6 separate regions of the Homo sapiens genome follow, and all the other regions are linked to region 1. The links are contacts of gene promoters, found by promoter capture Hi-C in blood cells and fetal thymus (Javierre and others, 2016). All regions are on one chromosome and are shown on one strand. The core of a region is centred on a gene start or on the middle of the fragment in contact, and the rest is flanking DNA. Distances in the headings are between cores, read along the strand shown. Region 1 holds the start of FBRS (fibrosin). Region 2 holds the start of CDIPT (CDP-diacylglycerol--inositol 3-phosphatidyltransferase). Region 3 holds the start of INO80E (INO80 complex subunit E). Region 4 has its middle 15 kb from the start of ALDOA. Region 5 holds the start of PPP4C (protein phosphatase 4 catalytic subunit). Region 6 overlaps YPEL3-DT (YPEL3 divergent transcript).

Region 1 (4,660 bases), core at 718-3,217:
CGTTGACCCCCAAAGGTCTGGGAACTGGGGCTGGTGCTAGAGATGGTGACAGGGGTTGGGTACAGAGTACAGGGAGGGGGTGAAGTGGTCACTTGAGATAGATAGATAGATAGATAGATAGATAGATAGATAGATAGATGATAGATATAGATGGAGTTCCGCTCATGTCACTCAGGCTGGAGTACAATGGCACGATCTTGGCTCACTGCAACCTCTGTCTCCCTCATTCAAGCGATTCTCCTGCCTCAGCCTCCCAAGTATCTGGGATTACAGGCGTGCGCTACCACACCCGCTAATTTTTGTATTTTTAGTAGAAACTGGGCTTCACCATGTTGGCCAGGATGGTCTTGAACATCTGACCTCAGGAAATCCGCCTGCTTTGGCCTCCCTAAGTGCTGGGATTACAGGCATGAGCCACCATGCCCGGCCTAGAGATACTCTCTTGCTTAGAGGATTCTCCTGTGTGGAGGGACACTTCTGAATCAGTGCCAGATGATACTGTGACCCTAGACCGTGGTCTGGGTTCTCCCAATTCATTTATATCAAGGAGACTGAAAGGCCTATAGTGGGTCAAGGCCTTGAAGATCAAGATGGCCCTGAATTCCTGCTAACATGCAGGCCAGGACCTGCTGCTGGATTCAAGAGCTACGGCTAGGCCAGGTGCGGTGGCTTACGCCTGTAATCCCAGCGCTTTGGGAGGCCGAGGCAGGTGGATCACAGGAGCCTAGGAGTTCGAGACCAGCTTGGCCAACATGGTGAAACCCCGTCTCCACTAAAAATACAAATATTAGCTGGGTGTCTTGGTGTGTACCTGTAATCCCAGCTACTCAGGAGGCTGAGCCAGGAGAATTCACTTGAACCCGAGAGGCAGAGGTTGTAATGAGCTGAGATCGCACCACTGCACTCCAGCTTAGGGAACACAGCCAGACTCTGTCCCCCCCAAAAAAACAAAACAAAACAAAGAGCTAAGAGTAATGGGCCATAATGAAGCACTCACGACGACTGTCATAGGTGCTTGACCTGCACATGTCCCTGCGACAGGGAATTAGTCATTTTATGGACGAGAAAGCAAGGCAGGCATGTCAGCGCGCTGTCCACTTTTAAAACGGTAACCCGGGCAACCGAAGGCCAGAAATGGCTGTCTCTTTTTTTTTAAGCCAGTCACATTGAGCAGTGGGGTGCATCTTTCATAACTGAGAGGCATCACAGGGCAGTGGCTGACATAGACGTGGCTAGGAGACTACCAGCCCGTCTGTGCGCGCATTCCTTTCCGTCCCAGTAAAATGGGGCTGACAGCATCTCCTTCATGGAATTATTACCAAACGCAGTCACAAACGCGGAGAAGCGCTCATGCAGGTGCAAGGCGTTTTCGAATTGCTAGCACTCGGGACCGCTGCCAGCAGCCGCGCCTGGAAGGGACGCGGCTGCCTGTTAGTGCGGCCGGCGCAGGCGCAGGCACAGCACGCGGCCGCTCGGGCCACCCCGGGCCGCGGAACGACTCGCAAGCAGCCAGCCTGACGGCGGCGCCGCCACGCGCGTGCGCGAGACGCCAGGCTGTCTGTGGGCCGCGCCGAGCGGCGGAAAGGCGGCGATGACTTAACTGGCTGTGGAACGGAACCTCTTGCAGCCGCGCGCCCCCCGGCGGCCAACCGCCCCCAACGCCTCAGGCCCCGCGTCTCCGCCCCTCGCCTCGACGCCATCAGGAGACCGGCCAATAAACAAACAGCAGGAAGAGGCGGGGCCCTGTAGTAACCGCCCCAAACACCTACTTCTAACCAGTCGAGTCACAAGACTGGGGGGAAGGGCGGAGCCAATCCGACGTAACCCAATCCAAGATTTGAGGGCGGTTACATGCACCCACTCCCTCGGGTTTGGCTCCGCCCCTCACCTTGACGTAGCCCTCCCAGCCTATCAACGACTGCGCCCGTTGGGGGTGAGGGGAAGGGGGCGGAGCGTGGGAGGAGGCCGAGAGAGGAAGGAGGCGTAGGCTGAGGAGGAAGAGGGAGGAGGGGTAGGGAAGTCCTGGCGGAGAAGCGCCCTAAGACTCCAAAGGAGACAACAGGAGTTTGTGCTGGAGCTCCCCCGCTGCCCATCGGCCGTTCCGGATCCCCTAAGGCCCAAGTCGGACAGAGACGGAGGAAAGGAGGAAGAGACTTTTATGTCGGCGGACAGGGGAGCTGTACCCGTCACCGTTGCCTCACATCCGGGGCTTTGGAGGGCTGGCCTCGCTGCCCCGCCCCGCCTCGCGCCTTTCATGGCGACCGGAGGCGGAGGCTGGAGGAGCTGGGCCCGGAGGAGGCCCCTTTAAATCTCCTTAAAGGGGTGGCCACTGAACTCGGCGGACTGCAACGCCAGCCTTAAAGGGGAAGCCGCCGAGCAGACGCTGACAAATTGAGAACTGTGCCGTTGGGAGAACTGGGGCGAGTGGGGTTTTTCTTTACGTCCTCCTCCCCCACACACAAGAAGTCTTTTAAATTCAACTTAAAGGGGAAGTGGCCGCTTGTGGAGGACTAGAAACTAACTCCGAGCCCTTAAAGGGACGGCCTGCTGTTAGAAGGACCCTGGACTCCTTAAAGGGGTGGCCTCTTTGAGCCGGAGGACTTGAGACACTTTTAAAGGGGAGGTCTGCGTTTCGGGGCGAGCTTTCGGCCCCTTTTAAAGGGGTGGCCCTTCCTCTTCCTCGGGGAGACTTGCATCGACCCCTGGCAGGGGGTGGCCACCGCACTAGGCCGCCGGACACTGTCGGGTCGTCTTAAAGGGGCCGGGAGCTGGACAACTTGGGGCCTCGCCTTAAAGGGACGGCCGCCCCGTTTTCGCCGTCGCGGCCCCGCCGAGCCCGCAGGGGGGGCCCTCGGGCTTGTCGCCCCGGGGGCGGCGCCGGCTCCCCGGGCCGTGGCCTTGGGGCAAGCTCGGGGCCAGCAGATCCGGCTTTAAAGGAGAAGCCGTGGCCCTCTCGTCACTGTGCAGCCGCCAGCGCCGCGCCTGCGACCCCGGGCCTGCGGACAGGCCGCTTCGGGCCCCGCCGCCTCCGGATGCGGCGCTGAGGGCGGTCGCCATGGAGACGGCAGCGGCCGCGGCCCCGGGTCCGGGCTGGGCAGCAGAGGGGGAGCGCCGACGGCGGCGCTGCTCGCGCCGAGACCGAGACCGGGAGCAGCGGCGCCGCCGAGGTCCAGGCGGCGACGCGCCCCGGGCCCTGTTGGCCGCCCCGCGCGGCTCCTCGTCCTCGTCGTCGCCGCCGCCGCCCGCCAGGCCTTGGTCGTCAGCTTCGTCTGGAGAGCGGCCTGGGGGCCCGAGACGCCGGCGGCCCCGTCCGAGACCTCGACCCCCGCGACCCCGAGCTCGGAAGCGGCCTGCCGGCTCGGGCAGCCGCGGGGAGGAAGAGGAGGAGGAGGAGGAGGAGGGGGGCGCAGACGACGGCGAAGCCGAGGAGGAGCCTGAGGAGGAGGAAGAGGAGGAGGAGGACTTGATCGATGGCTTCGCCATCGCCAGCTTCGCCACCCTCGAGGCCTTGCAGGTGGGGCCTAATGGGGCTAGGAGACTTTGGGGGTTTCCGAGGGGCAGCAAGGAGGGGGCAGTGCCCCTAGTGGGTGGAGTTGAGGGGGGAATGCTGGCACCCCAAACCAGAGCAACCGGCTCCTCTGGCCAGGCCTCTGCCCCGCCCTGGGGTGGGAGGAGGTAGAGCTCGTCTCTGGGGACCCGGTTTCCCGGCCCGAGGGGTACTTCGGCAACCTGGTCACCCCTAGAGGGGTTGGGAGCTTGCCCTTTTCCATCTATCTCAGCCCCACCTCCTCCTCCACAGAAGGATGCATCTCTTCAGCCCCCAGAGCGACTGGAACATCGGCTGAAGCATTCTGGGAAGCGGAAAAGGGGGGGCTCCAGTGGGGCCACCGGGGAGCCAGGGGACAGCTCTGATCGAGAGCCTGGCCGGCCCCCTGGGGATCGGGCCCGAAAATGGCCCAATAAGCGGAGAAGAAAAGAGGTGAGGTTGTCCCTTAAAACTCTTTAGGCAGAATGTATTTCCCACAGCCCCGTTTTTCATCAGCAACGCCACTGCCCCTTGTAAACAGAGACCCCAGTTTCTAAGGGCAAAGAGGCAAGCAGGGCAAATTTGAGCCCTTACTCATCCGGGTCTGACGAAGGCCTGTCTACAGTCAGGTGCACCTCCTTTTGCCTGGTTCTGTGTCTACTTCAAACGTTTTGATAATTCAGAGAGGCGTCAAAGGAATATAGTTGGGTCGTAAATTAATTGTGGTTCCTGCCCTTCCTCGAGGTGGTGGCAGTCCAGCAGAAAAGAAATAGCCAGCAAGCAAACACCTAGACCTTAATTTGAGAAGCTACAGAAGACAAAGATGGGGAGAGATGCTACAGAAACCCACATGAGGAAGCCGCTTGTGCTGCCTGGGGGATGGGAGGAGAGTTGTGGTTGGGGAAAGCCCCCTAGGATGTCTTAGTCAGGTCCTGAAGTATAGTCAGAAGTTTGCTAAGAAAAGACACGGGGAAAAGTTGTTTTGGGCAAGAGCATGAAGACGTGAGGACCCGGCGTATTTAGAGAATGGTGAGAGCACTGGGACCCGGGTGGGCAGTGGCGGGAGAAGCAGCTGGAAGGAGAGGCTGAGAGTAGATCCTGGAGGCCCATGAGCGCCCTGCTGGGAGCTGCGAC
Region 2 (4,660 bases), core at 1,014-3,513, 800 kb before region 1:
GCAATCCTTCCACCTTAGCCTCCTAAGTAGAGACTACAGGCGTGTACCACTGTGCCTGGCTAAGCTAATTCAAGATTTTGTGTGTGTGTGGAAACAGAGTCTCACTTTGTTGCCCAGGCTGGTCTCAAACTCCTGGCCTCAAGCAATCCTCCCACCTCAGCCTCCCAAAGCGCTGGGATTACAGGCATGAGCCACCATGCCCAGCCATTATCTTTTTAAAAATCCTTCCAGAGGCTGCCTGTGTTCCTGGAATCAAGTCCACACTCCAGCCCTGCAGACCTCTCTGGCTTATCTCCCTTCCCGCTTTCAGTCCCTTCTCTTTGCAGGCCTCATTCCCACTTGTTCCCTGGAGTAATTCACACAGGCCTTCCCCACCAATCCTCCTCCTCCACGCCTCAGCTTACGGGCCCTCCTCCTGGAGTGACTGGGCAGGCCCTGCTCTGCGCCCTCGCCTTCTCCTAGGCTAGGACCAGGATTCAGCCCAGGGCTTCCCACAGCCAAGAGCCTGAGGGGTGGGGTGTGCAGGAAATGCTTACCCTCGAGGTGTAGTAGATCCGAAGCACCGGATTCCCGGACAAGTCGATCATCTTGTGACTCTCACTGCCTCGGACCACAGAACTTGGGGAGAAAACAGGGGAACCCACAAGGTTTCATGACCACTACCATGCATCCAATCCTCATGTTAACACCTATTGTACAGATGGAAAACTGGGCACGGCTAAGGACCAGTATCCTGCCGAAAGCCACAGTTACCTATTTGGGGGCAGAGTCAGGATTCAAATGCCACATTTGAAAGCTCCCATGCCCCTTCCTATAAGCTGTCACCTATATGGAATCCTAGAATACCCAGCCAGAAGAGTCCTAAGAATTGCTTAATGCAACTGTAAACATGACTGAAGCTTTAAAGAGAGGCAGGTTTGCCTGGGGTCTTTCTACAAAGCAGAGCTAAAAAGGAGCCCTTCCAGGATGCCTAGTGCCATCCCAGACACCCTTCCGTCTAGGCTCAGCCCACCCCACTGTAATGTCTCCAAGTGGCCCAGGCCCCCAGAATCGCAGCAGACCTGTGGAGGTGCAGCCAGTGACTGGCCACATCCAAACTCATGCTGATTTGGAAGAACAGCGTGGCTCCAGGGTACAGCAGGGCCAGGTTGACCAACAGGCACATGGTGGAGCAGCGGTCCGTCAGCATGTCCAGCATGGCCCCAAACCGGGTTCCTGGAAGATTAGGTGGGCAAGGGCTGTTATGGCACAGTGGATGCAGGACAGGTGCCCATATTTGGTTTATCACTCTGACGCAGGGTGTAAACGAAGACTGGAAGTGTCCGCCTGCCTGGGGAGGAACGCAGGCTAGAAAACAGGCTGTGTGTGAGGTCAGTGGGCAAAGGTCACCATGGCATGAACTGAGAAAGGCATGAGAGTGGAGGGAACAGGGTAGGAGGAGAGGAAAGCTATGTCTGCAACTCATCAACCCCAGAACCAAGACTCCAGGGCTAGATAGAGACTTGATGCCTCAGGGGAAGCCTTACAGTTGGGTCTGGAGAACAGATTAAAAAATTAGTCAACCCTCCAGAAGCCATCACCCTTCCCTCTCCATCCTCCCTCTAAGCATGCCTTCTGGAACCCCAACTGCTTATGCAGGGCACACAGTAGGCCTCCAGTAAACACCTGTTGAATACACTGTTTTTTGTTTTTTGTTTTTTTTTTTCCGAGACAGAGTCTTGCTCTGTCGCCCAGGCTGGAGTGCAATGGCGCAATCTTGGCTCACTGCAACCTCCGCCTCCCGGGTTCAAGCAATTCTCCTGCCTTAGCCTCCCGAGTAGCTGGGATTACAGGCACGCGTCACCAAGCCCGCTAATTTTTGTATTTTTAGTAGAGACAGGGTTTCACCATGTTGGCCAGGCTGGTCTCGAACTCCTGAACTCGTGATCCACCCACCTCGGCCTCCCAAAGTGCTGGGATTACAGGCGTGAGCCACCGCCCCTGGCCTGAATGGACTTGTATTCAGAGAGACCTCCAGCAGCGCCACCGCCATGTCATGTCTTGCTAATCCACACCTCTCACAAGCAGTGAGTTCTCAAGAGCTAGCTTAAATTCCTTTTGCTACAAAATCAGTCCATTCTTGCTGGGCGCGGCACTTTGGGAGCAAGGCAGGAGGATCGCTTGAGGCTAGGAGCTGGGGACCAATCTGGGCGACACTGCAAGACCCAGTCTCTACAAAAATTTAAAAATTAGCCGGGTGTGGTGGCACGCTCCTGTAGTCCCAGCTAGTCAGGAGGCTGAGGTGGGAGGATTACTTGAGCCCAGAAGATGGGGGCTGCAGTGAGCCATGATCGCGCCACTGCACTCCAGCCTAAGTGACAGAGCGAGACCCTGTCTCAAAAACAAAAAAACAAAACACAAAACAAAAAGCCCCAGGCCATCCTGTTCTGCTTTTTCCAGAGATGGGAATGACAGCCCTCTGACTCTGAGGTCCCGAGGAGGCAGGGGAAGGGAGGAGGGGATTGTTGAACCCCAAGGCTGGCTGAGAGGGGTGTCTGTCACCTTGATTAAGAGCGCGAGCAGCGTGTCCATCGAAAGCGTCCAGCAGGCCGCTGAGCAGGTAGAAGGAGGAGGCCGTGAGGGGGCAGCAGGGCATGAAGTAGAAAGAAATGATGGCGAAGACAATCCGGGCATAACCTTGGAACGGGACGCGGGGAGACAGGGCAGGATCAGGGAGCCCGCCAAGGCCCCTCGCCCTCTCGTTCGGCCCGGGGCCGTGGGCAGCACTCACCGATGAGGTTGGGCACGAACAGGAAGATATTTTCGTCTGGCATCGCGGCGCCTCCCTTGCTGCCCCGGGCCTGCTCTGGAGATGCCAGTGCTGTCCCAGCCCCGCAGCGCGGCCTCAGCCTCCGGCCCGGCGCATCGGCCGCACCACCTGCGCCCTGGACCCCGCCGCCCCAACCTGGCCCCAGATGCTGAAGCCCGCAGCCGTCGGGAGCATGGACCGGCCCCGAGGTGCGCGGGACGCAGGGGGCGCGCGCAGTCCGCCCTTCCTACCCGCAACCTCCCTCGCCTCTGCCAGCCCCGCAGGCGCTCCGGGCCTCCAGCTGCGGTCGCCGCTGCTCCAGCTGCGCGTGGCTTCCGGGAACCTCCTCCTCCGCGCCCGTCGTTGCAAAATTGGAGAGAGGAAAAAGTGGCTTAAAAAAATAGTTGCGGCCCCTTTAAGGCCTGTCGGCTTCCTTTCCCTTTTCCTCCCTCCGCCCCTCTCCCTTGGCTCGTACCAAAGCGCAGAGGAGGAGAGGGAGGAAGGAACCATTAACGTCAAGCAAAGTTAGAAACGGAAAAGGAAAGGGTAAAAGAGAAGACCGAATAAAAATCTCTGCTTTCCTTTTGTGGAGGGTATGACTTCCTGGAGGCAAAGATAAGGCGATAAAATTCCTCCTCCTGAGTCTTTGCGTCCCCAAGAGGCCAGGAGATTTGGTGCAGTCCTCACTTTACTCCCCGCCCCCTAAGTCTCCAGCCGCCTTTGCTCTCGCAGGCTCTAGGCGGCTAGAGAGGCTCCAGAGCGCCCTGCAGATGGGTTGCTTTTCGCGTGCCCCTTGTGATGGGAGGATTAGGTCGCAGGCTCCACCCTACGTCATCCTCCCAAGCTTCTCAAGCGTCTGGCGCTTGGGGTCACTGCCCTCAAGGAGGCACCTGGAGGGGTACGGAGGGGAGGCTGGAGGAGCAAACGGGGCGCGCTAGGAAATTCCTCTGTCTTTAGTTCTAGAACCCCTGATCTCCTAGCAACGAGGCTGCGGAACCTCTGCAGACTCCAAGGGTTTTATAGCGTCCGGTAGCGACACGGAGCCGGCTCCCCCTTTTCCAGCCTTCCTCCCCATCTCCCATTCTCCATCCCCCACGACCTATACCAGAGGTCCTTAGGCCTCCACGTCTCTCCTTTTGCCGAGTAGCCCAAGGTTTCCACCCATCTGCCAGGTCTGGGGCGTCAAGTCGGCTGCCTCGGCTTGGGAAGGTGCTTGGGAGGGAAGAAGGAAGGAGAGGCCCACCAGGCGAAGGGGTGAGGGGTAGGGGGTTGCGGGAGTTCCCTCTCACTCCCGAAGATATAAAGCAACCTTTATTATTATTATTATTTTTTCTTGTGAGAGGGAATGAGGCAGCGGGATGTTTCCTCTAAAGGCCTTGTTTAAACCTGGGCCCGGGGAATGGTGGTGGACTGGGTTCTGGGGGAAAGCGGGCTGGTTTCTCAGGTCAACTCAGGCTTCGACTGTTCCCAGGGGGATGGCGTCCACTCCGATGGGGAATGAGGGGGAGAAGAAGAGCAGCTGGCCATCTCAAGCTGCACCCTCCTTGAGAGGAGGTCCGGTGAGCACTGCAGGGAACCCTAGAGGTGGGAATGTAATGAAGTGAAAGCCTCCCAGGCAGAGGCACCCCGTGCCAGGTCTGAGCCACGGGCCCTGAGACTCTAGCCTCAACCCTGAGTCCTGAAGCCCCGACTCATAGCTCTCAGCACTAGGCCCTGACTCTAAACCCCCACCAAACCCCCCTCCCCCAGGTCCAGAGCTTTCTAGCTAAATCTCAAGGCCCAGTCCTTCAGGAGCAAGCTCCTTGGACCCACAGGCCCCAGCCTGGGAACTCCCACAGCCAGCACTCCCATGTGGGAGCTCCCAGGCTGAAC
Region 3 (4,660 bases), core at 1,039-3,538, 660 kb before region 1:
GGGGTCCAAAGTAGTCTGGGCTGGAGGCTTCAGAGCCGGACTCTGGAATATGGAGAGGAGAGAGGGTTGAGACAGGCTCCTCCTGTCCCTTCTCCCTTCACTTCGGATAGGTTGCCTCGAGCCCTGCCCTGACAGTTGGAGGGGCAGCAGGAAACAGCTATCTGTACTTGCTGTTCCCGGTTCCTGACTCACTAGCCTTGCTCCCTCATCTAACGCCTGGGGACATAAGAGATGCGCAGTGAATGCTTCTTGAGTGAACCAACGATGCAGAAGGCCCCCACAGCAGGGAGGAAGCACTAACCCGACTCTGAATTGAAGCGGAACCTTTTTCTCTCCGGGTCGCTACAAGGGGTGGGAGGCCTCTTGCCCTTCTTGGTAAGGTCCAGTTTGTCTTCCCTGGAAGCGGCTTCATCCACCTGTGTGTGCGCCAAGAGGGCAAACTATGCACCAAGGCTGCGCTCACCGCGCCCCGTCAGGCCCCTCCTCCTCAGCAGCAAGCCCCGCCTCCGCCTCCCGCGGCCCAGGCTCCGGCCCGGCACACCTGCATCTTCAGCAGCTCCTCCTCCACCAGCCGCTTCAGTGCCTGCTTCTCCTCGGGCTCCAGGTGGCTGCGGCCCGAGTGAGCTAAGTACCTCCGCCGCACGATGGAATGCGTAAGCGTGCTGCAGGGACATGGTGTCAGGACGGAGTCCCGACCCACCCGCGCCCTTTCCAACCCCATCTCCAACCCCCTGGGCACCTGAGGTCCGGGCGGCCTCGGAAGAAGCTACGGGTGAACTCCTGCATCTCCTTCTCCCGCGCCATTTTGCTCAACCCGGGATTGACGGCTCCCGCCTTTTTTTCTTCTCGGCCTCCGTCAGCGCGTTTGACAGCGGCTCGCGCACGCGCAGTGCTGCGGCAACGTGGGGCGAGGGACCGTTGGCCCTTGGCCGCGGACCGCGTGGGCCGAGAACTTTGCCAGACGAGACTTGTTTTCTCTGGGCAGTTGGAGGGTCTCGCGGCTCCTACCCTTTTTTGGAACGGATCATTTTAAAAGTTCTCGTTAGAAACCAATTCGGCGCCGGCACCCTTTGGGTGAAACCTAATCAGCCCGCGACGCTGCCTTTCTCACTGGTCACGGGCAACAGCTAGGCTGCTGTTATTTCGCAAGGCAGAAGAGAAAAGGCATCCTCGCGAGCAGATGAGGAACCTCGGGGATAAATCCTTTTGTGGCTTCAAGTGTCTAAGTACATTAGAGTCAGGAACGGCGCTTTCCAGCGTCCGCCATTTTTGTGGCGTCACCGCGTCGCTGCTACGCCATCCCCAGCGCAGTGGCTGCCGCGCTCCTGTCCCAGTGTCCCCCGGGAGGTCGGCCCGTGCGGTGACGCCCCTGAGCGCGGGGTACGCCGGGAGTTGTAGTCCTGACGGCACAGCCTTGCAGCGTCTCCGGAAGTGGAGGCGGGAGCGGCACGGCAGCCACTGCTTGGGGTAGCGGGAGGGCAGACTCTGGGCGCCACTCCCGGGCCGGTCATGAACGGGCCGGCGGACGGCGAAGTGGACTACAAAAAAAAATACCGGAATCTGAAGCGGAAGCTCAAGTTCCTCATCTACGTGAGTGCTGCCGCGGGAAGGCTGTGGGGGATGAGGCCTGGCGCGGACAAGATCTCAGTTTACCCAGGTGTAAAGTGGGTGGGGCGAGCGGCCGCTGGTTCCGGGGCCCTTCACGGAGGACCGTTGGCCCAGCGCACCCCTTGCCCGTGATACAGGAGCACGAGTGCTTCCAGGAGGAGCTGAGGAAAGCGCAAAGGAAATTACTGAAGGTGTCCCGGGACAAGAGGTGAGGCACGTTGCAGGGGCGGAGGGCGATGTGCTTCCTAGGAAATCTACATTCGGACCCCATCCCCGAGTAGGGCCACAAGTGCATGGGCTCTTTCAAGTATCCGATGGGCCAGCTGGGAGGGACAGGTACCCAGGAGGACATTGCTGCGCTGGAAAATCACTGTCCGTGTCTCCTTCCCTCCCCTCAGTTTCCTCCTAGACCGACTTCTGCAGTACGAGAACGTGGATGAAGACTCTTCGGGTGAGCAAGGTCTTCAAAAATTGGTGGAGAGCATGGTTCCTGGTACTTAGCAAGCTTCCTGGGCCCCCGCCTTTTAGGCAGTGGTGGCTGATGCAGCCCCCAGTGGTCCTTAAGCCTAGTTGCTTGCCTTCCACCTCCACCGTTCTTTCATTCAGGCACTTACTGAGCACCTATTGTGTTTCAGGCACTGTGCTTGGCACAGGGGATACAGCAGAGGCAGAGATAGGCAAAGCCCTTGGCCTCTTGTAATTTATATTCTAGTTGGGAAGAATAAGTAAATGAAGACAATAGACTAGAATTTTAGGTCATAGGAAGGACTTGAAGGTAATGAAAACAGTTATGCGGTAATGATTATAGTAGAACAGGGGTTGATGAATTGTTTCTGCAAAGGGCCAGATGGTAAGTAAGCTTTTTGCAACATACAATCTTTGAAGCACCTACTGAACTCTGCCATTGTAGTAGCAGCCGTACCCCATAGGCAAATACATGAGTATGGCTATGTTTCTATAAAACTTTATAGGCACTGAAATTTGAATTTCATATTTTTCCATATGAAAAATTTTTCTTTAGTTTTTTTTTTTTCCAACCGTTTAAAAGCTTAAAAGCCATTCTTGGCCAGGTGCAGTGGCCCACGCCTGTAATCCCAACACTTTGGGAGGCCGAGGTGGGCGGATCACAAGGTCGGGAGTTCAAGACCAGCCTGACCAACATGGTGAAACCTCGTCTCTACTAAAGATACAAAAATTAGTCGGGTGTGGTGGCGTGCACCTGTAATCCCAGCTACTGGGGAGGCTGAGGCAGGAGAATCATTTGAACCCTGGAGGCAGAGGTTGCAGTGAGCCGAGATCGCTGCCACTGCATTCCAGCCTGGGTGACAGGGCGAGACTCCGTCTCAAAAAAAAAAAAAAACGCCCTTCTTAGCTTGCAGACCACACAAGCAGGCAGCAGGCAACCTCTGAATGGAGTACTCAAGAAAGGCCTTTCACAGAGTGACATTTGAGTTGGGACCAGAGAAGAAACCAGCCTTCCATCCTGGGCAACATAGTGAGACCCCATCTCAATTAAAAAAAAATTAGCCATGTATAGTGGTGTATACATGTGGTCCCAGCTACTTGGGAGGCAGAACCAGGAGGATCCCTTGCCTGAAAGGTCAAGGCTGCAGTGAGCCATGATAGCACCGCTGTGCTCCAGCCTGGGTGACAGAGCAAGACTGTCTCAAAAGAAAGAAACCCCATCCTGGCTAACACAGTGAAACCCTGTCTCTACTAAAAATACAAAAAGTTAGCCGGGGATGTTGGTGGGCACCTGTAGTCCCAGTTACTCGGGAGGCTGAGGCAGAAGAATGGCGTGAACCTGGGAGGTGGAGCTTGCAGTGAGCTGAGATTGCACTACTGCAGTCCAGCCTGGGCAACAGAGCCAGACTCCATCTCAAAAAAAAAAAAAAAACAAAAACCAATCTTGTGAAGAAGTGGGCTAGAGCTGTCCCGGCAGAATAATATAAATGCAGCTACCCTGAGGTAAGAACAGGTCAGGCTTGGTTGAAGAGCAGAGGCATGAAAGAGAGAGAACACTGTTTTCGTCCTTTTATTTGAATATTGTCTGCAGTTAACTATATTTTACATCATAACCAGGGCCCCACATGTTAAACAAAACAAAGTTTAACGAAACATTTTTAAGATCACTGTATCCAATTCATCCTGACACTTTTTAGACTGCTTTTTTCCCCTTCTTTTAATGCTGGTTGCAAACCAATAAATTGATTTCATGACCCACTAATGGCTTGAGACCCACAGTTTGAAAAAGCCCTAAGGTAGGCATTTGTGGGCCTCTTCCTGGGTGAGGCCCTCGTAAGCCATGTCACGTAGAATCACCTCTCTCCGTGGTGCCTTTAAACATTGGTCTGGGCCGGGCACGGTGGCTCACGCTTGTAATCCCAGCACTTTGGGAGGCCGAGGCAGGCAGATCACGAGGTCAGGAGATCGAGACCGTCCTGGCTAACATGGTGAAACCCCGTCTCTACTAAAAATACATAAAATTAGCTGGGTGTGGTGGCGGGCGCCTGTAGTCCCAGCTACTCAGGAGGCTGAGGCAGAAGAATGGTGTGAACCCGGGAGGCGGAGCTTGCAGTGAGCCGAGATTACGCCACTGCACTCCAGCCTGGGCAACAGAGCAAGACTCCGTCTCAAAAAAAAAAAAAAGCACATTGGTCTGAGGCAGGGATTGGCATGTGGCAGCCAGCCACGTTTTAGGACGTAGTGTTTTGTCAGAACGCATGATACCCATTTGCTTGTTATTATAGGAGGATTGTAGATAAGGTTGGGGAAATAGGCAGGGGCCCACTCAGGTAGGTCATAGTAGGAGATTTGGCTTTTATTGTAGCCTCTCATCCCCTGCCTCTTCCTTCCCTAGGGGCTTCCAGTTAACATCCTGTTTGAGGGGAATTCAGGGCAGGAGGTGGGAGAGAACCCAGCATGTTCATGGCCAGAGTGGGTTGCATCTGAGGAGGAAGAGCCAGCGATGCGAGCCCCACTCCCGTCCTGGAGGCCCACGCCCTGGCCAGGGAGACACTCGCAAACGACGCTTTTCAGCACAGTGTGAGGG
Region 4 (4,660 bases), core at 1,025-3,524, 610 kb before region 1:
CCACTGCACCTGGCTATATATTTTAATGAGCCTTCATTCTATGCCATGTGCCTTGCATACATTTTCTCAAATAATCACAGAAAGCCCTGCCAGTCCCTGAGGGTTATCCCCACTTTCCACATGAGTACAACTGAGGCTCAGTGAGGTCAATTGACTTGTCCAGGGTTGCACAGATATACTGTGGCAGAACTAGAATTCAAATCCAGATCTTTCCTGGTTCTAAAGGCTTTTTTTTTTTCTCGCCCAGGCTGGAGTTCAGTGACATGATCTCAACTCACTGCAACCTCTGCCCTCTGCCTCCCCAGTTCAAGTGATTCTCCTGCCTCAGCCTCCCGAGTAGCTGAGATTACAGGCATGCACCACCACGCCCAGCTATTTTTTTTTCTTTTTGGGGGCGGAGTCTCTGTCTGTCACCCAGGCTGGAGTGCAGTGGTGCGATCTTGGCTCACTGCAACCTTCACCTCATGGGTTCCAGCAATTCTCCTGTCTCAGCCTCCCAAGTAGCTTGGATTATAGGCACCTGCCACCATGCCCAGCTAATTTTTGTATTTTTAGTAGAGATGGGGTTTTGCCATGCTAGCCAAGCTGATCTCAAACTCCTGACCTCAGGTGGTCCGCCTGCCTTGGCCTCCCAAAGTGCTGGGATTACAGGCGTGAGCCACTGCACTGGCCTAAAGGTTTTTTTCGTTTTGTTTCCAACTGGGCCATTATTATTTCCAACCTATAAGATGGAAGTAATTGTTTCTGCCACTCGTGCCTCCTGTAAGGATTAAGTAAGATAAAGTCTGTGGAGAGGCCTCTGTTGACACCAGCTCTAGCTCAGCACTGCTTCTTTATTCCCCCAGGGTAATTACCTAAACACAAGCCTTTCATTTTATACTAAGGAGGCTGGTGAACCTCTTCTTAATCTCTGGGAGATGATATCGTTGGATGTCCATTGGAGGCAGCTGAAAGTATTAGATCAGAATCAGAACTGCCAGGTCCCTTCCCACGTCCAAGCCTGCTGAAGCTTCTTTCATCTTCTGGGAACTCTGCATCTCTGATCTCCCACCCACCCCACGATTATTGGAAGTATACAATCCTGTCTGCCCTTTCCTAGGGGAAGTGCGGAACTACATATGATACATCTGACATCTCCAGCTTCCAACTTCGGGAGAGGAGACTTTGCGGTTAGCTGGCTATTGTGAAGTCAGTTTTTCTCTGCCCCCAGCAAATGTTGTGATGTGGATAGAAGTGGGGCCTCGGCACAGCCAGGCGCAGTAGCTCACATCTGTAACCCAGCACTTTGGGAGGCCGACGTGGACAAATCACAAGGTCAGGAGTTTAAGACTAGCCTGGCCAACATGGTGAAACCCTGTCTCTACTAAAAATACAAAAATTAGCCGGGCATGGTGGCATGCGTCTGTAATCCCAGCTATTTGGGAGGCTGAGATAGGAGAATCACTCAACTTGGGAGGCAGAGGTTGCAGTGCGCTGAGATCGCACCACTGCACTCTAGCGTGGGCAACAGAGCAAGACTCCATCTCAAAAAAAAAAAAAAAGAGAAAGAAAAGAAATGGGGCCTTGGCAAAGTGGGGTGCATACATCATCCCTTGTCTTGGCTTGCCTGGCAACACACAAGCCTGGGGCACTGCCCGTGCTCCTGCATAATGTATGAGCCCATGGTAGGAACAAAACACCAGCACCAGCGAGTCTGGGCACTGCAGGCCACGGACGTGTCCAGGGGCCTTGCCAAGGCTGAAGTCTCTCTGTTGGCAGAATATGCAGAATATGTGTTCCTGGAGGCCTTTTGTAGGGCTGAGGTGAGAACTGGCCTCAACTTGGTCCTCAGGATTCCATCAGACAATAAGACCGCCCAAGGCCGGGCACAGTGGTTCACGCTTGTAATCCCAGCAATTCGAGAGGCTGAGGCAGGAGGATCGCCTGAGCCCAGGAGTTCAAAAACAGCCTGAGCAATACAGTGAGACCCCGTCTATACAAAAAATTTTAAAAATTAGCTGGGTGTCGTAGCATGCACCTGTAGTCTCAGCTACTTGGGAGACTGAGGTGGAAGGATCCCTTGAGCCAGGAGGTCGAGGCTGTTGTGGTGAGCCATGATTGTGCCATTGCACTCCAGCCTGGGCTACCGAGTGAGACTCTGTCTCAAAAAAAACAAAAACAAAAACAAAAACCGGAAGACAGCCTAAGAAGACAATCTTCTTTAGGATCAATAATGGTGACATTAGCAACAGCTAGACTTCTGTTTTCTGGGCTTGAAACGCCCTCTGAGAGGGCCAGGGGTGGCCAAGAGGGTGGCTGAGACCACCTCAGTATGGTTGACAGTGGGAGGGAAGATTTGGATCCAGGGACACAGCCCCTGGCAGTTTCCGTGGCTGCCTCATGGTGTAGGAAACCCCAGGAGCAGCAGCTGTGGTGAGGTATGTTGGGGTGGAGAACATGGACAAAAATAGGTATATGGTGGCATTGTTTTTAGGGGAAAATGCCAGGATTCAGCCATCGTTTAGGAAGTCGGAGGCCTCCATAGAGAGGGGTGCTTGTGTGAGCGTGCATGTGTGGGTGTGTGCAAGTGTCTGTGTGTGTGTGATCTAAAAAGGTTAGGAATGAAACGGGGAGGTCTGAGTGCCTTGAAAGCCAAGGAAATTAGGACGTGTGGAAAACAATGCTTCATTCGTGGATGGTGTTTGGTTTCAATTCATTCATAGAATCAGTGAGTATTGGCTGAGTGCAGTGGCTCTGGCCTGTAATACCAGCAACCTGGGAGGCCGAGGTGGGAGGATCATTTGAGGCAGGAGTTGGAGACTAGCCTGGCCAACATAGTGAGACCCCATGTCTACTTTATTAAAAGAAAAAAACAGGCCAGGCGCAGTGGCTCACACCTGTAATCCCAGCACTTTGGGAGGCCAAGGCGGGCAGAACACCTAAGGTCGGGAGTTCGAGACCAGCCTGACCAACATGGACAAACCCCGTCTCTACTAAAAATACAAAATTAGCTGGGCATGGTGGCACTTCCAGCTACTCTGGAAGCTGAGGCAGGAGAATTGCTTGAATCCAGGGCGGAGGTTGCAGTGAGCTGAGATCACACCATTGCACTCCAGCCTGGGCGACAAGAGCAAAACTCCGTTTCAAAAAAAAAAAAAAAAAAGAAAAGAAAAGAAAAAAGAAAGAAAGAAAGAAAAAGAATCAGTGAGTATTCACCAAGGCTCCCAGGGCTAGGCCAAGTACTAGAGCTCAGGATACGGAGATGACTCAGACCAGGCCCCAGACACTTGCAGTCTAATTGTGGAGCCAGACATGGAAGTGAGGAATTCAAGTATCTTGTGAGAAGTGCGAGAACAACAGTATCTGTAGGATGCTGTGGGAATTCACAGTCCAAAGCAGCCACCTCTGCCTGAGGTTGGCAGGGAGACCTCACAGAGGCAAAACTGAGGACGTGCTTGAGGGATGAGGAAGAGGTTTGAGGGGAAGACAGAGGGTGTTCCAGGCAGAGGGATCAGCAACTGCAAAGCTGTGGAAATGTGAGACCCTACACACTGGTTCAGGAAGCTTCAGCAGATCCTACTGAAGGTGGCTTATGCCTGTAATCCCAGCTACCTGGGAGGCTGAGGCTGGAGGACTGCTTGAGCCCAGGAGTTCAAGACCAGCCTTAACAACATAGCAAGACCACATCTCTAAAAATTCAGAAAAAAAGGCTGGGCACAGTGGCTCATGCCAGTAATCCTAGCACTTTGGGAGGCCAAGGCGGGCGGGATTGCCTGAGGTTAGGAGTTCGAGACCAGCCTGGCCAACATGGTGAAACCCCGTCTCTACTAAAAATACAAAAATTAGGTGTGCGTGGTGGCAGTCGCCTGTAATCTCAGCTACTCGGGAGGCTGAGGCGGGAGAATCGCTTGAACCCAGGAGACATAGGTTGTAGTGAGCCAAGATCACACCATTGCACTCCAGCCTGGGAGATGAGCGAAAATCTGTCTCCAAAAAATAAATAAATCAATTAATAAATAAATCAGTAAAAAAGAACCGGGCCCGGCGCGGTGGCTCACGCCTATAATCCCAGCACTTTGGGAAGCTGAGGCGGGCGCATCACTTGAGGTCAGGAGTTCGAGACCAGCCTGGTCAACATTGCGAAACCCTGTCTCTACTAAAAATACAAAAATTAGCCGGGTGTGGTAGTGCGCGCCTGTAATCCCAGCTACTCGGGAGGCTGAGGCAGGTGAATCACTTGAACACGGGAGGCGGAGGTTGCAGTGAGCCGAGATCGCGCCACTGCACTGCAGCCTGGGCGACAGAGCGAGACTCCGTCTCAAAAATAAATAAATAAATAAATAAATAAATAAATAAATAAATATAAATAAAATATAAAAAGTAGCATTGATGTTTACAATATCCCTGAGCGGCAGGCGTTTCTCCCTTTTGCAGATGCTCAGTGGCTTGGCCGGAGATACATCCAAGTGGTGGGTGTAGCCTGGGGGTTCAATCCTCCTGTGGCGCCCCAGAACCCGGTGCCTCCTCCAACGTCCGGCATCTGATGAGGATCCGACCCAGGCGGGCGGCGGCGGGATTCGCTCTTCCCCTTCGCTCCCCGCGAGAAAGCCCCGAGGGCCGCGGCGGCGCAGAGCCGGTGACAGTTGAAGCTTAGGCGGGAAGAGGGAGGCGCGAGGCGGGA
Region 5 (4,660 bases), core at 849-3,348, 580 kb before region 1:
ACACGCCTGTGGTACAGCACTTTGGGAGGCTGAGGCAGGTGGATCATGAGGTCAGGAGATCGAGACCATCCTGGCTAACACGGTGAAACCCCGTCTCCACTAAAAAATACAAAAAAATTAGCCGGGCCTGGTGGCGGGCGCCTGTAGTCCCAGCTATTCAGGAGGCAGAGGCAAGAGAATGGCGTGAACCCGGGAGGCGGAGCTTGCAGTGAGCCGAGATGGCGCCACTGGACTGCAGCCTGGGCGACAGAGCGAGAGAGTGAGACTCTGTCTCAAAAAGAAAAACGGAAGCAACTAAGAAATGTCAAGAGTGCCATTTTGGAATCAGAGAAGTCATGCTGACTGAGGCACAGGCTTGGCGTGGGAAAAGTGGACTCCAATCTGTTAACTTCTGAAGTTGTCCACGGCAAATATTTCTCTGACGGCACAGGAAGAGATCTGAACTTGGCTTCCCTCATCCATTGAACAAGTATTAACAAGTATCTATATATGCCTACCGTGCCAGGCCTTATTCTAACCACTGGGGCTGCAATATTTAAAAAGACAAAGTTGGATCCTCCAAGGACTGTGGTGGGGAAGGCTGACAAAACAAGTAACAAAAATGTGTAACATTAAAAAAAAAGTGTAATGTTAAAAAAAAAAAGTGTAATAAAGTTACAAAGCCTAGCCCCAGCTCGGCTTGTTTCCCTAGCTGAAATGGGGGATGGCCGGGCGCGGTGGCTCACGCCTGTAATCCCAGCACTTTGGGAGGCCCGAGGCGGGAAGATAGCTTGTGCCCAGGAGTTCGAGGTCACAGTGACCTATGATAGCCCCACCGACTCCAGCCTGAGCGATAGAGCGAGACCCTGTCTCTAATTTAGAAAAAAGAAAGTTGTGGCCGGGCGCGGTGGCTCACGCCTGTAATCCCAGCACTTTGGGAGGCCGAAGGGTGGTGGTGGGTGGGGGCGCGGATCACCTGAGGTAGGGAGTTAGAGACCAGCCTGACCAACATGGAGAAACCCCGTCTCTATTAAAAATACAAAATTAGCCCAGCGTGGTAGCGCATGCCTGTAATCCCAGCTACTCAGGAGGCTGAGGCAGGAGAATTGCTGGAACCCGGGAGGCGGAAGTTGCGGTGAGCCGAGTTCGTGCCATTGCACCCCGGCCTGGGCAACAGCAAAACTCCGTCTCAAAAAAAGAAAAGACAGTTGTTTAAACATTTTTATGAAATGATATGGGAGGGGACTGGTCTAGGGTTTCTAATAGCCTCCACATCGCCCAGCGGCAGAGCCCACAAAACTGCCACTGGCCGCCACCGGGTTCCTCCACCTCCTTCCCGATCTCAGGCTGGAGAAGTGGTGCAGGGGTCGCTGCGAAAGGAGAGGAGCGTGTATGACGCCACATCCGGCGCGCGGCGGAACTGGCCTCCTTTGCTTCCGCGGCGGGGCCGGAAGTAGGAGCGGCGGCGGCGGCGGCGGCGGCGGTCGAAAGCGGAGTGAAAGAGGGAGGCAGGGAGCCGGAGAGCCGGAACCGGAGTCGCAGCGGCGGTAATAGTGCGAGACTCCTCTAAGTCACCGTCCTTAGCGCGGGACCGCGGGGTTCGACGGGAGTTAGCGGGGGTGCGGCCAGGCCGTTGGACGCCGGGGGGTCCTGGGGCCGATGTGAGGGGAGGCGGGGGTGGGGGAGCCGGGCCGGCTCTAGAATCGAGTTGTCCGCTCCGAGCCCCGGACGGACACTGATCCGCGGGCTCGTCTTGGCCTTTCCCAGGAGACCCCTGTGCGGTGCGGAGGGGGCGGCGGCCCCGACTCTGACCCGCGCCGGGGGTGGGCCATGGCGGAGATCAGCGACCTGGACCGGCAGATCGAGCAGCTGCGTCGCTGCGAGCTCATCAAGGAGAGCGAAGTCAAGGCCCTGTGCGCTAAGGCCAGGTGAGCTCGTTGGCCCTGGGGAAGGGAGGCCAAGCCGCCGCCCACGGGTTCTGGCCTGGGGCAAACCCAACTGAGAACTTTGGGCTTGCCTCGTTCTGGAAGCTTTCCCAGAGAGGAGCAGGATGGAGCCGCTGCCCTCGAGGAAAAGCTAGCCTGCTCGGGGAAGACAGAGTGGATAAAGACACTTAAAGTTTATTAGACGATGTGTTTCCAGTGGAGTAAGAGTGTTACATAAAGTACTTAGGAAACTCAAGGAAACAAGTCCATCTGTCGGGGGACGGAAGCTTGTTGGAGGGGGGCCGAACTGTGGGAGAGGCCTCGAATAAGGAGGTGGTAAAAGAGTCAGCCAAAAACCAAAAGTTTAAGACAGGAAAGTTAAAGACCCTGTGATTTATAAAAGTCTTCTAATTACAACAACCCTTAAAGATTGGTGGTATTGTACTCATTTTACAGGTGGGAACTTTCATGTTCAAAGTTACCCACAAGTAAGGAATGGGGTCTGAAGCCAGCTCTTAGTGTCCTGTCCTTTTTCAGGCCATAATGCAAAAAGGTGGAGTTGGATCATTCACGTTCAGGGTGGGAGCCTGAGAAATCGTAGCAAGTAAGCCAGGGTAGAATTAAGCACGATAGGGAGGCCAGTTCAGAGTTCTGTGGGAAGTAGGATGATGTAGTGGTTAAGGCTCTAGGTTTTGCAGTGTGAGATGGCTCTAGGTTTGAATCTGAACTCTGCCGCTTTCTAGCTGTGTTAGTAATCTTAAGTGTCTTTATTTGTAAAGCAGAATTAATAGTACTTAATAAGATGATTGTGAAGATTCAGTGAGTTGGTGCTGGAGATGAGGTTAGCACAGTGTTTTGGTACAGCATACGTGCTTGATAATCACCAGGTATTCTATTTCTTTTGGAAGAGGGCAATAATGAGATGGGCTAAAGCCATCAGGGAGGGCTTTTGAGTGGAGGTAGGCCTTGAAGGATGAAGATAATTTGGCTAGCTGATGGAGGCAGGGCCAGTGAGGGAAGGGCATTCCAAGCAGGACGAATGTAACAGTGGAGGCCCTGAGATGCGTGGGGAACAGTCAGGGGTTTAATTACCTGCCTCCTCTGGGGAACTGTGTGATTGTGGCTTCTACCAGGCTGGAGAATTGTGGCAGAAGAGCCCACAGAATTACCCTACGTTTATTGAACAGTAAACATTGGCCTTTACAGGGCCACTATTTGGCCTGGCCCGGTACTGGCAAAAAACTTCTATCCATCTCTTCCCCCCAGCAATCCTATGAGGTTGGAATCATTTGCTGCATTTTATCGAATAGGAAGCCATGACTCGTAGAGGTCTGGTGACTTAACTGAGGTCACCCACTGAGGACGTGGCAGAGCTGGGTCCTGAATCTGTGGCCCTCAGGCTCTTTGCCTGGCCCTGCCTCACATAGACTACCTGCAGCCAGACAGGGCCTGTGAGGGGATGATGAGCAGGGTCGGCCTCTTTTTCGCCACCTGTCTGTGGCTTTTCTCTTTTGCCAGCTGACCAGACCAGCCCCATGGTGTTTTTAGTTGTCCCCTTTCCCTCAGTCCTGATTGGCATTTTTAGGAACTTAAACCTGTTGTTGCCTGGCACTATTCTTTAACCTCGAAGTATTGTCTCCCTCACGGGCCCTGGATCAGTGTGGTGGTGATGGTAGACAAAGCTTAGATAGCATGCTGGAGTTTGCAGAATAGCAGGAAGTCGTATATTCAGTCTCCATGGCTCCTTGCAACAGCCTAAGGAATACGCAGGGTGGGCTGAGTACTTAGCCCCATTTCATAGCAGAGGAAACTGAGCCTTTGAGTAGATAATGTCTTGCCCAACATCACGCAGCTAGTCGGAGGGGAAGTTAGTTTTGCATCCAGGTCTTTGACTGTGCTCCGTGGTCACTGAGAGCCAGGCAGAGGCATTTAGATTTTGATGTGGGGTGTGAGGCAGCAGGAAGCCATGGAAGGCTGAGGGGTGGAGGGTCCTGCCCAGTTGAAACTGAGTGGAACTAGGAGGTACTAGGCCAAGGCCTGAGTTGGCCGCTGTTGTCCCAGGCTCAGTCTGAAGCAGGGCCATCTCTGATACCTGGTTATGGCCTCCTGGGGACCCATCAGAGACCCAGGCTGAGGCTGGTGGTGTCAAGAGCACCAGCTTGCCTAGAGGGCACAGACATGCAGATGAAACCAGTGGAAGCACAGAGGTCCGCAGTGTCTGAGCTGAAATTGCTGCTACTAGAAATATTAGCACAGTAGGAGAGCTGAGCTTTTGAATCAGGTGGTCTTCAGTATGAATCTTTGCCTTGTCACCTAGAAGCAATATGACCCTCGTCAAGTCACTTTCTGATTTTTTGAAGTGATAATGACATGCAGTTGAGAGTCCGGGTATCCGGGCACAGGGCCTGCTGCGCTGGTAGCCGTTACTGCAGGCAGGTCCTGATAGGGCTGGGGAAGTGCTGCAAGTGGCAGAACTGGGGCTGGAATCTGGGCCTGATTCCCAGGCCACACTGGGGTTGCGCTGGCACTGAGGGGGGCTTTGCAGAGAGCACGGGCCCTGCATGTGACCTCCCTGGGCTTCAGGTTTTCACTCAGGGTCTGTGGAAGGGGCTGGCATAAATTCTCAGGAAATTGGGCTTCTGGGTTCCAATTTAGCCACTCTCCAGCTTGGTGACCTTGACCCTCCCGCTTTTCTGTAAGCTTTGGTTTCTTTTTTTCTTTTTTTTTTTTTTTGAGACAGAGTTTTGCTGTTGTTG
Region 6 (4,660 bases), core at 1,360-3,859, 560 kb before region 1:
TGTAAACAAGGGGTTGGCTTTAGGGGTACTCACCCAAAGACACAGAGGCCACTGGCAGCCCATAGCCTTCCTGTCAAAAGTTCTTGACCCAGTAACCCACCGATGGCCCGAATGTGCCCAGTCTGTAGCAGCAACTGCTTTGCTAATGGAACGAAGCAGGAAAATAACCTTTGGGGGAAGCCTCATTGTATGTACCCTTCATCACGTTAGAACCATTCTTAATCAGAAGGCAGGAAGATAGCTCACTGACTCAAGGATTTTAAAATGTGAGGCTATCGGGTGGGTGTGGTGGCTCACGCCTGTAATTCCAGCACTTTGGGAGGCTGAGGTGGGCAGATCACAAGGTCAGGAGTTTGAGACCAGAGTGCCCAGCATGGTGAAACCCCCTCTCTACTAAAAATACAAAAAATTAGCCAGGCATGGTGGCGCACGCCTGTAATCCCAGCTACTTGGGAGGCTGACGCAGGAGAATTGCTTGAACCCCGGAGGCGGAGGTTGCACTGAGCCGAGATCAGCCACTGCACTTCAGCCTGGGCAACAGAACGAGACTCCATCCTCCACCCACCCCCCAAAAAAATTGAGGCTATCTTATTAGAGAGGGATGATTTAACATTGACCACTGGTAGTTCGCTCAACTCCGATGTTTTCCTAACAGGAAATCCGAACCGGGAGGAACCTGAGCATAAATGTTTAGATCTGATCAGTTATCAGACTAGAGTCAGACTGCATCTAAGCAAGACCCTGTTCCAAACTGGGCATTACCTCTTTATAGACGGCTCCTCTCGGGTAATTGAAGGAAGGAGGCATAACGGGTGCTCTGTAGTTGACAGGGAAACCCTCATGGAGGTAGAGTCAGGGAGACGGCCCAATAACTGGTTCACTCAAACATGTGAACTCTTTGCATTAAATCAGGCCTTAAAATCTCTGCAAAATCAGGAAGGAACTATTTACACTGACTCCAAGTATTTTGGAGTAGTCCATACCTTTGGAAAGATCTGGACTGAACGAGGCCTCATTAATAGTAAGGGCCAGGACCTTGTCTATAAAGAATTGATTATGCAAGTACTAGAAAATCTTCAACTGCCAGAAGAAATAGTGGTGGTCCACGTCCCAGGACACCAGAAAAACCCATCTTTTGAAAACCGGGGAAATAACCTCACAGATCAAGTAGCCAAGCAAGTTGCCTCTTCCTGAGAGGCACCCATTTTCCATCTGACCCCTTGCCTTCCCCTCCAGTCGCAATCCCCATCTTCTCCGACGCGGACCAAGAAAAGTTAAAAAGAATAGGAGCTAAGGAAAGCTCAGAGGGAAGGTGGGTATTACCAGACGGGAGGGAAATGCTGTCTAAACCTCTTATGAGGGAAATATTATCACAGCTTTATCAAGAAACTCACTGGGGTCCCCAAGCTATGTGTGACACAGTCCTCAAAGCCTATGGGTATATAGGAATCTCTACCCTCGCTAGTCAGGTGGCGGATAGTTGCCTAGTGTGCAAAAAAACTAATAAAACCCGAAGGAAGCAGCCTTTACTTTATCAAGGGAACCACCCCTATAATTGCCAATCCAACCAGTGCAACCCAGTACTTACCTCTATTACTACCCCTACCTCCACCGACCCTAACTCCACTCTAGGTTGCTTCTATGGCTTAGGAGCCGATGTTACTGGAAGGGACCCTATAGGCTTCTTTGAAATATGTTTTGTTCACCCTTCTCCACCTCCTACCGTCTCCCCCTCCCCAAGCCCACCAAATCAAACCATTCCTCACCTCTTACCCAATGACAAAACCAAAGTAGCTATAGTAGAAGTCAAGGACTTAAAGCAAACCCTAGCCATTGAGACCGGGTATCAAGATGCAAATGCCTGGCTGGAATGGATTAAATATTCTTTTCGCACCCTGAATAAAAGCGATTGTTACTCTTGTGCAGCGGGCAGGCCGGAAACCCAGATTGTCCCCTTTCCACTCAGATGGGCCAACCAACCAGGCATGGACTGTATGGTAGCTCTCTTCCAGCACACCACAGCCTGGGGAAACAAGACGTGCGCCACTCTTTCACTACGTTTCCCAAAGATCAGGAGCCCTACGGGTCAGCTCCCAAGGACCATTTGACTTCCACCTCTCAATGCCAGTTACACCTTGTGTCTCCCACAACAGGACAAATTGACGTTCCTTGGAAATCTAATGGGAGTCTAAACCTTTTCAAGAGCTAACCAATCAGTCAGCCCTTGTCTATCCCCGAGCAGATGTATGGTGGTATTGTGGACTGTTACTGGGTACGCTGCCAAGCAATTGGAGCAGCACTTTTGCTCTAATCCAGTTGGCCATCCCTTTCACCTTGGCATTTCATCAACCAGACAGGAAGCAAGTAACCCAAAGAAAAAGAGAAGCCCCTCGTGGGCCTTTGACCCCCATGTTTACATAGACAGTAGCAGGGTCCCACGGGAGCTACCAAGTGAATTTAAAGCTTGGAATCAAATAGCCGCTGGGTTTAAGTCTGTTTTGTTCTGGTGGTCTGCTATAAATAAAAATGTAGACTGGATAAATTATATATACTACAGCGAGCAGCGATTCGTCAGTTATACCAGGGATGCCATCAAAGGAATAGCTGAACAATTAGGCCCCACCAGCCAGATGACCTGGGAAAATAGACTAGCCCTTGACATGATATTGGCAGGAAAAGGCAGAGTCTGTGTCATGATCTGAGTCCAATGTTGTACTTTTATCCCTAATAATACAGCCGCCGACGGGACCATCACAAAAGCTTTACAAGGCCTTACCACCCTGGCAAATGAATTAGCCGAAAATTCTGGACTAGATAACCCTTTTATGGGTCTCATGGAAAAGTGGTTTGGAAAATGGAAAGGACTCCTGGCTTCAATCTTTACCTCTCTTGCAATTGTAACAAGTGTACTTATCCTTGTGGGCTGCCGCATCATACCTTGTATTCGTGGGTTAACTCAAAGGCTCATAGAAACAGCCCTCACTAAAGCCTTCCTCTCTTCTCTCCCTCCATACTTGGACAAGCTCTTGCTCCTGGATAATCAAGAAGAACAACGAAGCCAAATCCTGTTAAAATTTTTTGCAGAGGAAGAAGTATCAAATAGAAGAGAGGAAATTGTTGGGACAGCTAAGCTCTTCAAAGACTCAACTTCCTGGTCATAAACTTCTCCCCGTTTTTCTTCTTTTTCGCCAGTCTACCCTGTTTGGGAAAGTTTAAACCTTAGCCAGTCGGGATCAGCTCAGATTGTGCAGTCCATCCCCAGTCAATGGGGAAAGGACACAGAAACAGGAACTGCGTTAGGGTTAAAAAGCCCTTCTCTCCTTTGTTTGGGGTGCTCTTGCGATTACAAGCTGCGCAAGTAGCACCGTTCTGAAGTAAAGATGCCTTGCTGGGAAATCTGTCTCAGTGCTGGTTTTTCTTGACTACACTGAGCACTTGTTTCCAACACCCCTGTGCTCCAGGCTGGGTTAGGTCTGATCTCAGGGAATGTCTGTTTCAACACGTGTCTGCAGTTCTTTGGCTTGTGTTGCTCACTGCAGTGGGCCCAGCCTGGTCTAGAGGAGGCGCTCAGGAAGTATCTGTGAAATGTGAATGTGTAGTTCCTTCAGTGAATATGGCCCTGGGGCTGAAGATGGCAGAAGCATTCTGGGAGCTTCTGGAGAAGGAGACCTGGGAGGAGAAGGTTGGAATGGCGGGGGCAGCAGAGGGGCTGGGTGAACTCAGCTGTCCCACCCAGGCCCATCCTCTGCAGCCCGAGAAGGAAGCTCACAGGGCAAGACATGGAAGAGATCAAGTTCCCTGCCCGGTGCCTGGGCTGTTGATGGCCTCAGGAAAATGGAACCATTACCTGTTGCTGTCAAGTGGCTGGGGGCCAGGATGCCTGGGTTGGCCGTGAGAGGACATTGCTGAGGAGAGTGGAGGCCAGGCTGGGGTGGGGTGTGGCAGGAGGACAGGAATGCAGTGGAACCAGTGGGTCAGGCTCCTGAGGGCCCCAGGCTCCAGCCTCAGGGCTGGCCTGTTCCCTCCTAAGCTGCCATCTTCATATCTTCAGGACCCACCCCTCTACTCCTCACCCTCAGCACAACGATGTGATCGAAAGGCAAATATTTATTTTTCAGGAAGAGAAACAGGAGACCTCGAGGCTTCTGGACTTAGGAGGTCCGGGCAGCTGGTCCATGGTTGTCCAGGTAGTGCCGCAGGGCTGTGGGATAATCCGTTATGACGCCAGTGGCTCCCACGCTGAAGGCTGCTTCAAAATCCGACTCTTCATTAAGGCACCAAAAGACCACCTGAGCAGGGAGGGAGGGGGCCTGTAGATTCTGAACAATTTTACATCTGGAGAGTGGGGACCCACCTCCTCCTCTATGGAGACTCCCCAGCAGCAGTAGGCTGGAGCTGATTGTTAAATTCTCAGGAATTTTGCAAAGTGGTTATTAAACCCAGCCATTATTAAAAATTAAATCATAGCCTGGGTGCAGTGGCTCACGCCTGTAATATCAACACTTTGGGACGCCGAGGCAGGAGTTGAGGCCAGGTGTTTAAGATCGAGTGAGACCTCATCTCTACAAAAAACTTTGTAAAAATTAATTAGCCCGGTGTGGTGGTATGCGCCTGTGCTCCCAGCTACTTGGAAGACTGAGGTGAAAGAATTGCTTGAGCC

Evidence for each region. Contacts are between HindIII fragments. The CHiCAGO score rates a contact against its expected background, and 5 or more counts as called.
Region 2: a contact is called between a fragment that was not itself captured here and the fragment with the promoter of FBRS in region 1, in 1 of 17 cell types (fetal thymus). The highest score is 6.2, in fetal thymus.
Region 3: a contact is called between a fragment that was not itself captured here and the fragment with the promoter of FBRS in region 1, in 1 of 17 cell types (fetal thymus). The highest score is 9.9, in fetal thymus.
Region 4: a contact is called between a fragment that was not itself captured here and the fragment with the promoter of FBRS in region 1, in 2 of 17 cell types (fetal thymus and naive CD8 T cells). The highest score is 9.8, in fetal thymus.
Region 5: a fragment that was not itself captured here is called in contact with the fragment with the promoter of FBRS in region 1 in 8 of 17 cell types (fetal thymus, naive CD8 T cells, total B cells and 5 more); the score reaches 18.1 in fetal thymus.
Region 6: a contact is called between a fragment that was not itself captured here and the fragment with the promoter of FBRS in region 1, in 2 of 17 cell types (fetal thymus and erythroblasts). The highest score is 7.2, in fetal thymus.

What each region holds. Positions count from the first base shown.
Region 1 is chr16:30,656,464-30,661,123 of GRCh38, forward strand. It overlaps FBRS (fibrosin), which reads left to right and starts at 1,968. Exons shown (of 18, transcript NM_001105079.3): 1 at 1,968-3,514; 2 at 3,800-3,979. The coding sequence starts at 3,056. RefSeq lists silencers at 1,384-1,643, 1,674-1,753, 1,804-1,983, 2,804-3,033, 3,104-3,153 and enhancers at 2,234-2,683, 4,364-4,523. The HindIII fragment of the contact is 16,259 bases long and covers 1-4,660 here.
Region 2 is chr16:29,860,045-29,864,704 of GRCh38, forward strand. It overlaps CDIPT (CDP-diacylglycerol--inositol 3-phosphatidyltransferase), which reads right to left and starts at 3,182. Exons shown (of 6, transcript NM_006319.5): 1 at 2,771-3,182; 2 at 2,542-2,676; 3 at 1,062-1,215; 4 at 537-618. The coding sequence starts at 2,813. It also overlaps the pseudogene CDIPTOSP. RefSeq lists enhancers at 609-1,147, 3,303-3,840 and silencers at 2,875-3,184, 3,195-3,254. The HindIII fragment of the contact is 2,733 bases long and covers 898-3,630 here.
Region 3 is chr16:29,994,802-29,999,461 of GRCh38, forward strand. It overlaps INO80E (INO80 complex subunit E), which reads left to right and starts at 1,440. Exons shown (of 7, transcript NM_173618.3): 1 at 1,440-1,590; 2 at 1,746-1,816; 3 at 2,007-2,059. The coding sequence starts at 1,510. It overlaps HIRIP3 (HIRA interacting protein 3), which reads right to left and starts at 816. Exons shown (of 7, transcript NM_003609.5): 1 at 740-816; 2 at 542-662; 3 at 302-416; 4 at 1-42. The coding sequence starts at 804. RefSeq lists enhancers at 1,164-1,333, 1,394-1,523. The HindIII fragment of the contact is 354 bases long and covers 2,112-2,465 here.
Region 4 is chr16:30,048,398-30,053,057 of GRCh38, forward strand. It overlaps a transcript of TLCD3B not described here. Among named protein-coding and RNA genes, the nearest start is that of ALDOA, 15 kb to the right of the region's middle. RefSeq lists a silencer at 248-448. The HindIII fragment of the contact is 2,534 bases long and covers 1,008-3,541 here.
Region 5 is chr16:30,074,569-30,079,228 of GRCh38, forward strand. It overlaps PPP4C (protein phosphatase 4 catalytic subunit), which reads left to right and starts at 1,426. Exons shown (of 9, transcript NM_002720.3): 1 at 1,426-1,526; 2 at 1,747-1,907. The coding sequence starts at 1,810. RefSeq lists enhancers at 148-327, 1,950-2,039 and a silencer at 1,700-1,839. The HindIII fragment of the contact is 182 bases long and covers 2,008-2,189 here.
Region 6 is chr16:30,100,721-30,105,380 of GRCh38, forward strand. It overlaps YPEL3-DT (YPEL3 divergent transcript), which reads left to right. Exons shown (of 2, transcript NR_135192.1): 2 at 2,737-4,660. GDPD3 (glycerophosphodiester phosphodiesterase domain containing 3) reads right to left here. Exons shown (of 10, transcript NM_024307.3): 10 at 4,090-4,289. The coding sequence ends at 4,152. Among named protein-coding and RNA genes, the nearest start is that of YPEL3-DT, 6.6 kb to the left of the region's middle. The HindIII fragment of the contact is 297 bases long and covers 2,462-2,758 here.